3 separate regions of the Homo sapiens genome follow, and all the other regions are linked to region 1. Evidence: promoter capture Hi-C in 16 types of primary human blood cells and fetal thymus (Javierre and others, 2016). All regions are on one chromosome and are shown on one strand. Each heading gives the region's core, a stretch centred on a gene start or on the middle of the fragment in contact. The rest is flanking DNA. Distances are from core to core; before and after follow the strand shown. Region 1 holds the start of ZNF25 (zinc finger protein 25). Region 2 holds the start of ZNF32 (zinc finger protein 32). Region 3 holds the start of ZNF239 (zinc finger protein 239).

The links. Contacts are between HindIII fragments. The CHiCAGO score rates a contact against its expected background, and 5 or more counts as called.
Region 2: the fragment with the promoter of ZNF32 here is called in contact with the fragment with the promoter of ZNF25 in region 1 in 3 of 17 cell types (total CD4 T cells, monocytes and non-activated CD4 T cells); the score reaches 7.6 in total CD4 T cells.
Region 3: the fragment with the promoter of ZNF239 here is called in contact with the fragment with the promoter of ZNF25 in region 1 in 1 of 17 cell types (non-activated CD4 T cells); the score reaches 5.4 in non-activated CD4 T cells.

The regions. Positions count from the first base shown.
Region 1 is chr10:37,974,723-37,979,227 of GRCh38, reverse strand. ZNF25 (zinc finger protein 25) reads left to right here and starts at 2,581. Exons shown (of 6, transcript NM_145011.4): 1 at 2,581-2,722. It overlaps ZNF25-DT (ZNF25 divergent transcript), which reads right to left and starts at 2,473. Exons shown (of 6, transcript XR_930830.4): 1 at 2,223-2,473. RefSeq lists enhancers at 2,338-2,567, 3,608-3,697 and a silencer at 2,608-3,017. The HindIII fragment of the contact is 11,670 bases long and covers 1,032-4,505 here.
Region 2 is chr10:43,646,806-43,651,310 of GRCh38, reverse strand. ZNF32 (zinc finger protein 32) reads left to right here and starts at 2,430. Exons shown (of 3, transcript NM_006973.3): 1 at 2,430-2,509. All of the region lies in intron 1 of ZNF32-AS3 (ZNF32 antisense RNA 3), which reads right to left. It overlaps ZNF32-AS2 (ZNF32 antisense RNA 2), which reads right to left. Exons shown (of 3, transcript NR_047558.1): 2 at 4,102-4,199; 3 at 3,292-3,742. RefSeq lists a silencer at 2,405-2,924 and an enhancer at 4,476-4,505. The HindIII fragment of the contact is 4,172 bases long and covers 1-3,265 here.
Region 3 is chr10:43,572,732-43,577,236 of GRCh38, reverse strand. ZNF239 (zinc finger protein 239) reads left to right here and starts at 2,621. Exons shown (of 4, transcript NM_001099282.2): 1 at 2,621-2,697; 2 at 3,560-3,600. RefSeq lists a silencer at 2,839-2,898. The HindIII fragment of the contact is 4,716 bases long and covers 1-3,244 here.

The DNA of each region.
Region 1 (4,505 bases), core at 1,332-3,831:
GAGACCAAAGTTCTTTTGAAGTCTCATAGTGGCTATCCTTGAAAACAAGAGATGACAGATGTTTCCTATTCAGACCCTTTAAAAGGTGCTAGACTCTCAGTCAATCTATTCAGAATTAGAAGGGCCTGGAAGGAAAAGGCCTAGCTATGTTAGTTAATAGAGATTATTTAGAGATGCAAATTTTCCCACAAAGGACGGCTTGCAGGGCCATTTCAAAATGTGACAAACATGTTTTTGGGGTAAAATGTTTTTATTTTCTTCCTTGTCTCATAATGTTATGCCAGAGTCTGGTTGGAAAGTAAGTCACATTTTATGGGGTTAAATAAAACCCATCTGATATGAATTTATGGTTTGTAGGGCATAACTCCTCAGACCCCTTAGATAGAAATTTGGATAAGATAAAAAAAATCAGAGTTTAGTCTTCAGTTCCTTGCTATTCCCTGAGGTTGTTTCCTGAGGAAGTTAAAAATTATTTTATCAAGTAAAACAAAACTAAGCTCCCCGTTAAGATTTTTTAATTTAAATTTTGATTGAAATTGTGTTAAATTTTATAGTTTCTCTAAGGGTAAATATAAATATAAAAATTTGGGCTGGGCGCAGTGGCTCACGCCTGTAATCCCAGCACTTTGGGAGGCTGAGGCAGGTGGATCACGAAGTCAGGAGCTCAAGACCACCTTGGCCAAGATGGTGAAATCCCGTCTCTACTAAAAATACAAAAAAAATTAGCCAGGCGTGGTGGTGGGCGACTGTAATCCCAGCTACTCAGGAGGCTGAAGCAGAGAATTCCTTGAACCTGGGAGGCAGAGGTTGCAGTGAGCCGGGATCATGCCACTGCATCCCAGTCTGGGTGACAAAGCCAGACTCTGTCTCAAAGAAAAAAATAAAACAACTGAATTTTCCTTCTTGCAAAAAGGGAAAAAGACCTTTACTCCTCTCTTTTCTTACAGCATTTCCTTAAGAAAACTTGTAATTGTAAATCCCTTCTCTGTCCCTGTGAGATATAGCAAAACTTTTTAAAAAGTAAATAAGCTTCTTGCTAGTTTAACAACCCAGGAAGGTCTTTCTTAATGGCCTTGGGTCATGTCTTTGAAATGTAAGCATCAAGGAAGATTGCACCCCATCTCCCTGCCTCTGTGGTAAACTCCTAGGCTCCTGGCTACCCGCGGTTAACTACCTGCGTGTCATAGAGATACCAGAAACTTTACTTTTCATTTGCATAATGGCAATTAACTAACACTGATGGCTACCCTAATTATCAGGTGAATTTCAGATGAATTATGCATAGCAAATGTTGCTGTACAGTCATCTTACTTGAGGACAAGTTATTTTTACCTTGAGGAAATAGAATGCGTTGTACCAGACCGGCTAATACAAAAAATGATAGTTCTTCCTGTCTTCATAAACTCATTAGTGGGTTGCCTGTGACGCACATCGCAGTCTGGTTTAATGTTTATTCAATAATGTAACTGTTTTGTTCTTTTCTCCATCTGTGGAGAGAATTTTCTGGGTTGGCAAGAGGCTTTATTTTAAATTATTTCCTCAATACTTCCCATCCAGAAAGGTGGTGTGTGTGTGTGTATTATGTGCGCATATTTTTATATGTATATATATGTGTGTTTATACACATGACAATATATACGTTTTTTTCTAGATGATTCTACATGTTTTAATGTAATAAAGTTATTGACCAGGAAATATATAATTTGTTTTACATATACAGCCAAGTCCTCTCTCTGTATCCGCGGGGGATTAGTACCAGGACCTCCCTGGATTACTCAAATCCAGGGATGTTCAAGTCTCTGGTAGAAAATAACCTGATATTTGCATAACCTACACACCTCCTCCTGTATATTTTAAATTATGTCTAGATTAATTGTACACCTAACACAATGTAAATACTATGTAAATAGTTTTATTGTATTGTTTAGGGTATAATGACAAGGGGGAAACTTTGTACATGTTCAGTAAGATAGAATTTTTAAGTATTTTCATTCTGAGCTTAGTTGAATCCATAGATATGCACCCCCAGGATAAGGAGGGATGACTATATATATTCCTTAGTGAAATGATAGTCATGATACTCTATACCATTAGGTTAAAATTTGTGTAAATTCATGAGAAGGATGTTCACCTAACATTAAGCGCTTTTGCTTTTGGGAAGTGGTATACTCGTTTTCTGTTTTAGCTTATACATATTTTGTAGTTTATTACGTTTCGCGTACCGTTTGCACAATTGTGAAAGCTAGCATTCCTAAGAGGAAGCGGTTACAGGGCATTATCCTTCATTACTCCACGTACTCCTGTACCCACGGAGTTCAATCACTTTAACAAAACTGCCCATCAGTGTTCCTTGGAGCACCTCACGGTGGATTTCTGTCTTCAAGCCCAGACGTGCAGGGTGCAGCTCTCCGGCCATCACTGAGCAAGGACAGCGCCCTCTCCCGGAAACCCGACAGCAATCACTCAGGCCGCTGGAGGCGGCCGCGCCTCACGACGTCATCCAAGATGGAGTCGCAGCCGGGCCTTCTGGGAAGCGTAGTTCTGGAGTAGGGCTAGGGAAACGTTCTGCGCATGTGCAGTGTCTTCTTTCTGGCATTGGCGTTTTTTTGGTCTTACGCCCTAGGGTGGGGAGAGGACTCCGGTGCCTCCGGGTCTGGGCTGGGCCGCAAAGGGCGGGGCCTGGGCCCGGCGCGGGCCGGGAGCAGAGGCCGAGACCCTGCAGGTGTGTCGAAGGCTTTTGCGGGCGGGCAGGGCCTGGGAGGCGGGGTCTCGAGCCTGGAAGCCGCCTCCTGGCCCCGGAGCGGCCTCCGCGGAGGGCCCTGGGTGGGAGCCGCCTGGTGGGGAGGTTGGCTGGCTGCGCTGGCGCCCCTGCCCGGAATGGCGTTTGCGCGACCTGCTTGAGGGGCGGCCAGAGGAGGCCTGCGGTGCTGGGCAGTGGGCGCCCGGAGCAGCCGCATTGTGTGACGTGACCGGAGCCGCCATGTGAGGCGCGCTGGCCGCTGCAGACGCGGCGCTCCAAAGCCGCAGGGACGTGGGCTCTGGTCCAGCGTCTGTAGGTGGTCCCAGTGCGGCTCGACGCGCATCTGGCAAATGATGGGGGCCTTTGGGTACTGAATAGGGTAATAGATGTAAAGTATGATACAGGACTCAATAAAGGTGAGCTGCTTCTATTATTACAAAACATGCTGTTTTCATTATTGGCTCATTTAATCATCGTAACCATCCTTTCGACTTAACCATCTCTATTAAAATAAATGTGACTATTAAAGATTCAGAGAGAGAAATCCGTTTACCCACAGTATTAGCAGGTGGGATGTAAATCCTCACTTTTTCCTCTGAGTTAATGCGCCTTGCCACACTAAAATCCAGTCTTGACTTGTATTTAGCACAGCATTTGCCCCTTGAGCACCACCAGAACGTAGCTGTGTGGTGTACTTGAACCCAGTCTCAACCAGGTAGTGTTCTGTTTCCAAAAATGCTTGGGGAATCTTCAGAGCACTTGAGTCAAAAGGTGAATTATTTAAGGCCTTCCTGCATCCTCCAACCTTAGTCTCTTCTCAGAGGACTGTGAAACGTGTAAATTGAAACCACAATTTGAGCCCTCAATTTTGCATTTTACAGGAGAAGCTGGGAATCCCATCCAGCCCAGAGGCTAGTTTCTAAAGACAGGAAATGGGACAAAAAATTTTTTTAAAGATGAAAACTGCAGTTCATCAGTTCCTCCATTTTATGGTGGTGATCTTATAATGCCTCTCATTGGCTGATAACTGAGCTTAGGCATTTCGTAAGCACCATGCTAGCTGGAAGTGGTTTTTGCTGCTTATTTTAGTTTTTTTTTTTGGTACATAATGTACATATTTGTGGGGTACATGTGATATTTTGATATATGCATACAATGTGTCATGATCAAATCGGGGTAATTACAATATCCACCGCCTCATTTATCATTTCTTTGTGTTGCAAATATTCGAAATCTTCTAGCTATTCTGATAGCTAATAAATTATTGCTAACACTTGTAACCATACTGTGCTATTGAACACTAGGACTTAATCCTTCTACCTAACTGTATTTTTGTACCCATTAACCAACCTCTCTTCATTCCTCACTCCCTACTTCCCTTCGCAGCCTCTGGTAACCATCATTCTACATCGTATCTTCATGAGATCAACTATCTTAGCTCCTGCGTATGAGTGAGAACATGATATTTGTCTTTCTGTGCCTGGCTTATTTCATGTAACATAATGCCCTCCAGTTCCATCTTTGTTGCTGCAATGACAAAATTTCCTTCTTTTTATGTCTGAATAATATTCCATTGTGTATATATACCACAATTTTCATTATCTATTCATGCATTGATGGGTACTTAGGTGGATTCTGTATCTAGACTATTGTGAATAGTGCTGCGATAAAAATGGGAGTGCAGAGATATCTTCAATATACGGATTTCCCTTCTTTTGGATATATATATAGCAGTGAGATTGCTAGATCATATGGTAATTCTGTT
Region 2 (4,505 bases), core at 1,181-3,680, 5.7 Mb before region 1:
TTTACACACGGACAGACATGTCCACTTCCCCAGTCTCCTTTGCAATCTTTGCCATTTAGTACTTGGGAAGTAATTTTCATTTGTTTCAATTGGAAATTTTATAAAATGAATAATGAATGTATTTTCCTTTCATTTGTGTGTGTGTGAGTTGCTGTCCTTTGCCACATTTCTAGTGAACTGTCTTTTTCTTATTGATTTGTATGGTGTCTTTAAGTATGACGATTGCTAATATTTTCCCAGCTTGTCACATGTTAACTTCATTTAGTGGTACTTTGGCCACACAGAAGTGCTGGATTTAAATCTTCTTCCTTATTGTTTCTGCCTTTGTTACATTGGTTAAGAAAGCCTTCCCTGGCAGAGCTTGCAGTGAGCCGAGATAGCGCCACTGCACTCCAGCCTGGGCGACTGAGTGAGACTCCATCTCAAAAAAAAAACAAAAATGAAAGCCTTCCCTATGACAAGATTATAAGAAGATTAATCCATGTGTTCTTCTGGGCCTTTGTGGCTCTGTGTTTCCCATTTTACATTAATCCATCTGGAGGTTCTCTTGGCATGGGAGTTAGGTAAACATTCAACTCCCCGACCCCACCAATGTCTAGCCCTTGTCATAACACCATTTATTGAATTATCTGTCCTTCCCCTAATATTTTGAAATGCCTGCAAAGTGAGGAAATTGTTCTTTGGTAATTTTTCAAATCTACACTGCGGATGATTTCCCTTTCACCCTCACCCCACACCCTCCCTTTTGTTGAGTATTTGCCTTAAGATGCAGGTGGTGGGTGAGGATGTGCCCCATTTTGCAGCTGGGCAGTCTGTCTATGGAGGCTGGGGTCACATCAACCCCAATCCTAACAGCTTTCTCCCCTGCTTTGGGCCCTTCAATGTGTCCACTTTCCTGAGACGCCTTAAGGGAATTTATGCAGATCTATAAAAGTGACGATGGTCCCCCCTCACAGCCACCTTTTCCCACCAATGCTTTGTCATGTACCTTCACGGCAGGATCTGAAACTTGTCCTAGTGTCCACAGCCGGTCTTGACCTTAACAGAACCTATGTACCCTTGTGTGAAGCAGAGGCCGCAGCCTTAGGACTCTGAGCCTTGGCCTTTGCTGTGTGCCGCCCTCCACCCCTTTCTCAGACTTGGGAGGAGTGAGGAGAGGAGCCACCTGGGGCAGTTCAGGAATGGGGAGCTTCAGGACAGTTTGCACCACACACTCTGGGACTTAGCTGTGCAACACCCCGACCCCCATGTGAGGAAGGTGGTGTTTGTTTGCTCCACCAGACTGTCAGCTCCTCCCTAGGAGCACGGAGTGTGTCTTGCTCACATTCGTATCCCCAGTGTCAGCACTTAAAATGGATTCAACGGATAAATGTTGAATGAAATTCAGAAATGATGTGCAATAGTAAAAGCTAACATTTAGGAATCAACTTATTACTTACAGACACCTTTGCATATTGAGTGAAATTAAGTTGTTTGATTTAACAAATCTGTGGCTTTGGGGTAGAGAACAAGAACATAGCAAGAGGAAGCATTCTTTATTAGTCCTTCACGAAAGAGGATGGACAGACACATCTACGGAGAGGGGCTCCAGAGGCAGGGACCCAGAGATACACCCGGCCAGGCAGAACAGCTCCAGGATGTGGCCCCGATCCTGGAAAAGTGCGTTTAAAAGAGGCTTAAGGCATATCAGACAGCCTGGCCAACATGGTAAAACCTTCATCTCTACTAAAAATACAAAAAAATTAGCCAGGCATGGTGGCACAGACCTGTAGTCCCAGCTACTTGGGAGGCTGGGGCAGGAGAATCACTTGAGCCCAGAAGGCGGAGGTTGCAGTGAGGCGACACCGTGCCACTGCACTCAAGCCTGGGAGACAGAGTGAAGGAAAAAAAAAAACAGGCATTATTAGAGAGGCTTTATCTCCTACGTGTTCAAAAGCAACCATGCTCCTCCCAGTATCTCAGGACGACTGGACTGCCTGTGTTCCTGTTGCTCTTCACAGAAGCTCCATGAAAGCGGGCTTCGCTTTTGTTCATGCAGCCAGAGGCTCAACACATGACCTCGAAGCCGCCAAGGCTTTATCAAACGGATTTCTCCCAAAAACTTCGTTTCCTTCCGCGACGCCCTGCAAGAACCCTGTATTCCTGAGTCCCTGGCTCAGCGTCTGCTACCCCGATGCTGTCAATCAGATCCTGCTAATCTGAGCGGCCGTGGCTCCGTCCCGGCTCCGCGTCCGCTGACAGGTCACCGCTGTGAGTCTCCGGATTACCAGTCCAAACGGGACGGCTTGAGGTCCCCGCGCCCTAGGGACCTGCGGGGCCCGAGCGCAGGGCGCGCCAGAGAACTACATTTCCCACAGAGCTCTTGGGAAGCCGGGGCCGCCGAGACCCACGGCCCGGCGGGCGGGCTCGCGGGGAGACTCCTGGGAGTTGTAGTCCATTCCGCCGGCGCCGGCGCTGGCGCTGCTGCGGGCTCGGCGCCGGCCTTTGTCTGCGGGCACGCGCCGCTGCGGTGAGTGAGGCCGCTGGCCGGGTCAGAGCGCCGGGGCAAGGCGGGGCTGCGCCATCAGACCGCTGTCCCGGGCCCTCCGTGTGGCCGCCTTATGCCAGCGGCCGCCAAGGAAATGAGCAGGCCTGGCCGGCCCGGGCCCCGAGGGAGGCCAGCCGCGAGCGGAGAGGTCGGCGGTCCGCAGAGCAGGGTCCCGTGGACCGGAGAGCGGGATGCCGAGGTTCAGGACGCAGGGCGGGCCCGGTGCCCGGGGCCCGGGGCCTGAGGCGGGAGGGCAGCGTCTGCGGAGAGGAGCAGGGCCCATGGCGTCGGGGCGTGGGAGGGGGAGGCCGCGGCAGGCTCACCCGGCCTCCGTGCGGGCTTCAGCGAGTGCGGGAAGCCGGTGCCGGCCTTCCGGGGTGGGAGGAGAGGCAGCCCCTGCGGGGGAGAGTAGGAAGCCAGGCAGCGTGTGGGAAACCACGCTACCCACAAGCTCCTAAACCTGAAACTGGCCCCAGGACATTTTCCAGACCGCCAAGTGTACCCCTCTTCTCATCCGCCCTCCAGAGGACGCCGGATTTTAGATCTTAAGTCTGGTGGTCTCGTCTGATACTCCTCTTGTTTGGTTCTTTCCTTCTCATTGTCCTACCTGATAGGACAGTGTTAGTAACCTGTTTAATAAGTGGGGAAGCAGAGTCAGGGCTGCTGGGTTACTCGCCCAAGATCATATCCTGGGGGAGCCACGGCAAGAAGCCAAGACTCACGGACTACTTCTAAGCTTTTTCCAAAGGATATAGTAGCCTTTCTAATAGGAAAATCAATGTTTTTAATTATAAAGCCACTTTTACAAAATCTTGGGGAAACTGCTTCCTCAGACCTGTGATCTAGGGAGAAAAATATGACAATTTCTCCCTTACTAATCACGGAGGTCCCTGATAGGCGGCGGAGTTGTAACTTGAAGACCTCACAGCAGGTGGAGAGGCAGAGCTGTGAATTCTACTCTAATTTCTGGAATCCCCGGCGACAGAGTCCAACCCCAGGCAGCAGGCGCCATGTACCCCAGGGACTTTTAATGTGTGTGCAGCTGTTGAGCAAGAATACCTTGAACTTCCAAATGATGTGCTGGCATGCTGGTAGGGAATTCCTTTGCAGCTTGTGTTCCAAGTTGGAAGTGAGTCCTCCAAATAAAAATTTAAATGATTCTCCTGGTCATCACAGCATGTAGCAGAATGTGCAGTTGTCAAGAAGAACCAGGTGCTTAGGTTGACAAAACAAAGAATGGTAGCATCATACTATTATTTCATTAAATCAGAAGGCCAGCATTTTGATAGGACAAATTAGAGGGAAACAAGGAGTATGCATTGAACCACTGCATTTCTTAAAAGTATAAGAATTCAGTAATTAGGATCCTGAAGTAAGAAGAAATATTTTTTTTAAAAAATAGATCATGTGGGCCAGGTGTAGTAGCTCATGCCTACATGTCTTGGGAGGCCGAGGCAGGAGGGTCACTTCAGGCCAAGAGTTGGAGACCAGCCTGGGCAGGATAATGAGACCCGATCTCTACAAAAAAAAGTTAAAATAATTTTTAAAAATTAGCCAGGCTTGGTGGTGCTTACCTGTAGTCCTAGTTATTTGGGAGGCTGAAGTGGGAGGATCCGTTGAGTCCAGGAGTTCAAAGTCACAGCAAGCTGTAATTGAGTCACTGTACTCCAGCCTGGGCAACAGAGCAAAATCTTGACTCAGAATTTTAAAAAAATTAAAAAATAATTTAGAGCACATACAAGAGGATTCCTAGGATCTGAAAGAGCACTTCAATCTGGTCAAACTCTCTTCCTTTCTGTTCAATTTTATAAGCATTCTGACCAGCTCTTTAGTGATTAGGAACTAGACAACTGTCTAATGTAAGAGCATACATTTTGGATCCAGAAAGTCTTGGATTTGAACCTTTGCTCCACTTTGACTCCTTATTTTCTGTGGGTTTCTGGGCAAGTTACTTAACCTAGTTGGAGTGCCTTGGGCT
Region 3 (4,505 bases), core at 1,372-3,871, 5.6 Mb before region 1:
ACATGTACCCCCAAAATATGTGCATCTATTATATACCAATTTTTAAAATTAAGTTAAAAATTAAATTTTGGGTTTTGCATGTGAAAAAAGAGAGAATATGGGAGAAAAGAAATTGGAAACATCCCTTAGGGACAATTTTTTTAGGAGTTTTGCTGTAAAGCAAAGCAGAGAAATGAGGTAGTGGCTGGAGAGAAATAGGGTGCAAGGTAAGGGGTTTTATTTATTTTATGGACAATATTACAGTGTATTCATTAGTATGCTGATAATTCAGTACAGAATGAAAATCTTGAAATACAGAAGAGAGAGAAGGACCTCATTCATGAGAAAGCATTTAACATCCAGGGTGCAAAAGAATTTTCTCATATAGGAACTAGGGCCAGTGACTCAGAATGAAAAGTAGAGCATACAGTTTCTAATGCAGAGAGGAGGGCAGATGTGCCTGTGAGGCGGTATAGAAGTTCTCTTTACTCAGTAACAGAAAGCAAAGTCATCAGCACTCAGTGAGATGGGAGGAGTTGTTGGCGGCTTGAAAAGAGAGTAGAAGACCAGGCATGGTGGCTCAGCCTGTAATCCCAGCACTTTGGGAGGCTGAGGTGGGACGATCGCTTGATCCCAGGAGGTGGAGACCAGCCCGAACAACATGGTGAAACTTCATCTCTTAAAAAAAAAAATACAAAAATTAGCCTGGTGTGGTGGCGCAAGCCTATAGTCCCAGCTACTTAGGAGGCTGAGGTGGGAGGGTTGCTTGTGCCCAGGAAGCAGAGATTGCAGTCAGCCAAGATCGCACTACTGAACTCCAGCCTGGCTCAAAAAAATAAATAAATAAATAATGAAAAGAGAGTAGAACCTGTGAAATAGTCATTTAGGAGAATGGATGGACTAAGAAATGTAGAAGGATAGCCAGGCAGCGTGAAGGGCCCACTTGAACTTAATGGTTATAAACTGAAAATGAAACCAATCATCCCAGCCATGTGGTTTTCTCAAACAACCTCTGCCGTACAGGCGCAGGCCAGGAACTGGATTCAAGCAGATTTGGGTTTCCATCAAGAGAATAAAACCAAGAAAGACTGGGACAAGAGAGTTAAGGGTAACGGCACATACACAGGACTGGCCATAACCATGCTCCATGGCCTCTTAAATTGAGTGAGGAGAGAAGTGAGCACATGAGGAAGTGAAGGTCAGGGCAAGGGTGGTAAATCTAAATAGGGAAAAGCTCTGTGGTTTTCCAATGAAGAATGAGGAGAGGAGTAAGGTCCAAGGGAGACATTTTGTGTTCCCCAGGCAAAAGGTAAGACAGCATCTCTGAGGAGGAGACCGAAGGGGACGTGGGCCTCTCCAAGCATCGCAGGCTGAAAATAATAGTCCCCCAAATATGTCCATGTCCTAACCCCCAGAAGCTGTGGATGTTAATTTCTATGGCAAGAGGGATTTTTTTTGAAATGTGATTAAATTAAGGATCTTGACGTCAAGAGATTATCCCAGATTAGCCAGCTGGGCCTGATGTAATCACAACAGTCGTTATTAGAAGGACCCACGAGGAGCCAGTGCCTGAGCATGTGATGTGATGATGAAGGCAGAGGTTGCAGTCATGCACTTTGAAGATAAAGGAGCGAGCCATAAGCCAAGGAATGCAAATAGTCACTGGGAACTGGAAAAGGCAAAGAAATATTCTCATCTAGAACCTCCAGGAGGAACTAGCCCCACCAACACTGACTTTATAAAGCCCAGTAAAACTTGATTTCAGACTTGGCACCTCCAGAAGTTTAAGAGAATACATGTTTGTTATACTACTAAGTTTGTGTTAATTTGTTGTGACAGCAATTGGAAACTAATACACCAAGGAAGGGGGAGGATGTAGAAGAGAGGTCCAGGCAACATCTCTTTCCTCTCCAAAATAAATCTGAAAGAAAGGAATTGGGAAAAGACCAAATGGGTAGCTCTGTGTCACTCGGTGAGAAGTGAAATAAACGTAAAATCCTGGTATCAACAACCCTTGTGTGCGTTTAGGAGAGTTCTGACTGCTGGGAGCCACTTGTCTAATTCCCTCACCTCCTGTGTTTGTTCCAAGATCCCCTATTTAAAATTGCAAAGTACACCTCCAGTCCTACACACCCACAAACGCACCTCGCCACACCCCGCCCAGCTCTATGCTTTCAGTACCACCTCATGACACACACGACGCCATATATTTACTATATTTATGGATTGCTTGTTTCCCCAACTAGAATAGGGCAGTGACTTTTGTGCAAGCATCTTGAACAGCTCCTGGTACACAGTTGGCTCTCAATTAATATCTGTTAAATGGATGAACTTCAGAGGTGAGATGGAAGATGCCGAATGGCAAATATTCACTTCAGAATGTTTTGAAAGGTAAAGATGAAATTATGGGTATTTACATCCTTTTCCCCCAATAGTATTTTAACAAATGAAAATCACCTTAACAGGTATTCCTAAAATAATTCTTATTTGTTTGTAATAAAAAACGAGGAGGAGGACTTGAATACACGCGTCGCTGACTCAAAGATGGTCCCCTCCGCCCAAGAATCCCGCTCCGCACAGCGCAGAGTTCAGGGGCCCGCGCCGGAAGTGGGCGTGGTTCGCCCGCGGCTTGCTGGGACTTGTATTTCGGGGCCCTAGGCGCGCGAGCGGTCAGCATCCGGAATCTGGCCCCTGCAGGCGTGGGGTTCCACGTGGGAGGTGAGACTGGCCGGGCTTCCCCAGCCGCTGGCAGAGGCGTTCAGGGGTCAGGAAATGGGTGTGCCGCGGGTAAGGCGCTGGGCCGCCGAGCTGCGGAAGCCGGGAGGGCGGCGATGGTAGGGCACGCGACCAGCGGAGGCGCGGCCCGCGGCGGCACGTGTGTCCCGGCGCCGCATTTCCGAGCTGCTGCGCCCCCGGGGCCGGGCTGCGGCCACACCGAAGCCTGTGGGGCCCTGCAGCTGAGCGGCCGCGCCTCCGATGGCCCCTCCTCCCTCCTGGCCGAGCTCTGGCCTGGGCCGGCTGGGGGCTTCGTGGTTGGCCACGCCGGCCTTTTCCTCGCCTGTGACGGGCGTTATTGCAGGGGGGTTTTCGGTGGACGTTAGGCGACGGACGGGGGCTCCTGTAAGAGACTGAGGTTTCTGTCCGCAGCACTGCCTTCGCTGAAAAGAGCTTGCATCTGAGCCCCCGCACCGCAGGAACGAGCCAGGCTCCTGAGAATGAGGTCGGGGAAGGCGTCTTGGGCAACCGAAATCCATCCCGAGAAGCTTCTCCTCTTAACTAGAACTTTAGGACAGAGATCGGGAAAGTCAGAGGAAATGGGCACGGCTTCGAGCTGCCGGCGGCTGCGGAATTTACCTAGCCTCTTGGTTTTGGGGGGAAAACTTGGCTTGTTTAATCGAAAGCCCTGTGGAGAGAGATGAAGGTGGTGACAGAAAATGCTTCACCTCTCACCTGATGGAGGGAGTGTGGGTGGAAGTGACTGAAGAAGCGTCAGAGGCAGGAGCGGAGTAACTTTTTCCCCGCAGTCTTGCTGGACTTGATTTTCATGGCTTTTTCTCTTTCCCTAACTCTGCCTTTCCAGGAATCCATCCCCTCTGGGAGTAAGAAATGACCAGGGTCCGGGTGAGTTGGCGTTCCATTTCTCCTAAAATGCCATCTCCCTGAAATGTCCCTGTGCCATGTGTTGTTTTCTTTATTGTCAGGCCCCCAGTACGGTATTTTATAGCTATGGATGTAGGGACATTAAGATACTAAGGACATGTAGCTAGCAGATGATGTCACCAGGGTCTGCACAGAGAGTTTTCACTGGCCCATCCTGCCTCCAAGAATTTATTCCACTCCTCAGAGCAGTGGGCTGTGCCCTCCTGGGGAGCCTCTCAAAGCCTGCCTTTTCCTGCCAGACATTTCACTCACATTGAAAGTCATTCCAAGCTATTCCATACTCATCCCAGTGCTAAGTGGTCTCAGCAAAACAGATAGAATGATAAACCACGGTGCTTTTCTTCAAGGAGCTTACCATCTTGATGAACATATTATATTACCTGTACACAAAAAAATGCATATTAATAGTGATAATTTATTAACTATGAGTCAAAAACGAGGAAATTCGTTAAATGGCAGCACAGTGGTTACAAAATCACTCTAGAAATGCTTTTCAACTAGGCTATGCATCAGAACTCTCTGTGGTGTTTTTTAAGAACTAAGCTTCCTTCTCTCTTCCAGACCTAGTGAAAGGAGAGTTTCACTCCTTTTTTATTCTGTTGATCTTTGTACATCCAAAGGTTTATTGTGAAATATCTCTCTATACACTATAAGTGTCTCTAGGGTAGGTAAAATGAGTTATTCATCCTTTATACTCAGGTTGATTTGTTCTCTTTCACTAGCATGTCTACATATTTAACTGTTCCAGTAAATTTTAAATTACCAAGTCGTACTTTTTTAAAGAGAGTTTTCAGTTGTCCCCATAAAACCATCTGTAGGAGGTTACCTCAAAATTAACCCTTAGACTCCCAGGGTATTTGAGATGG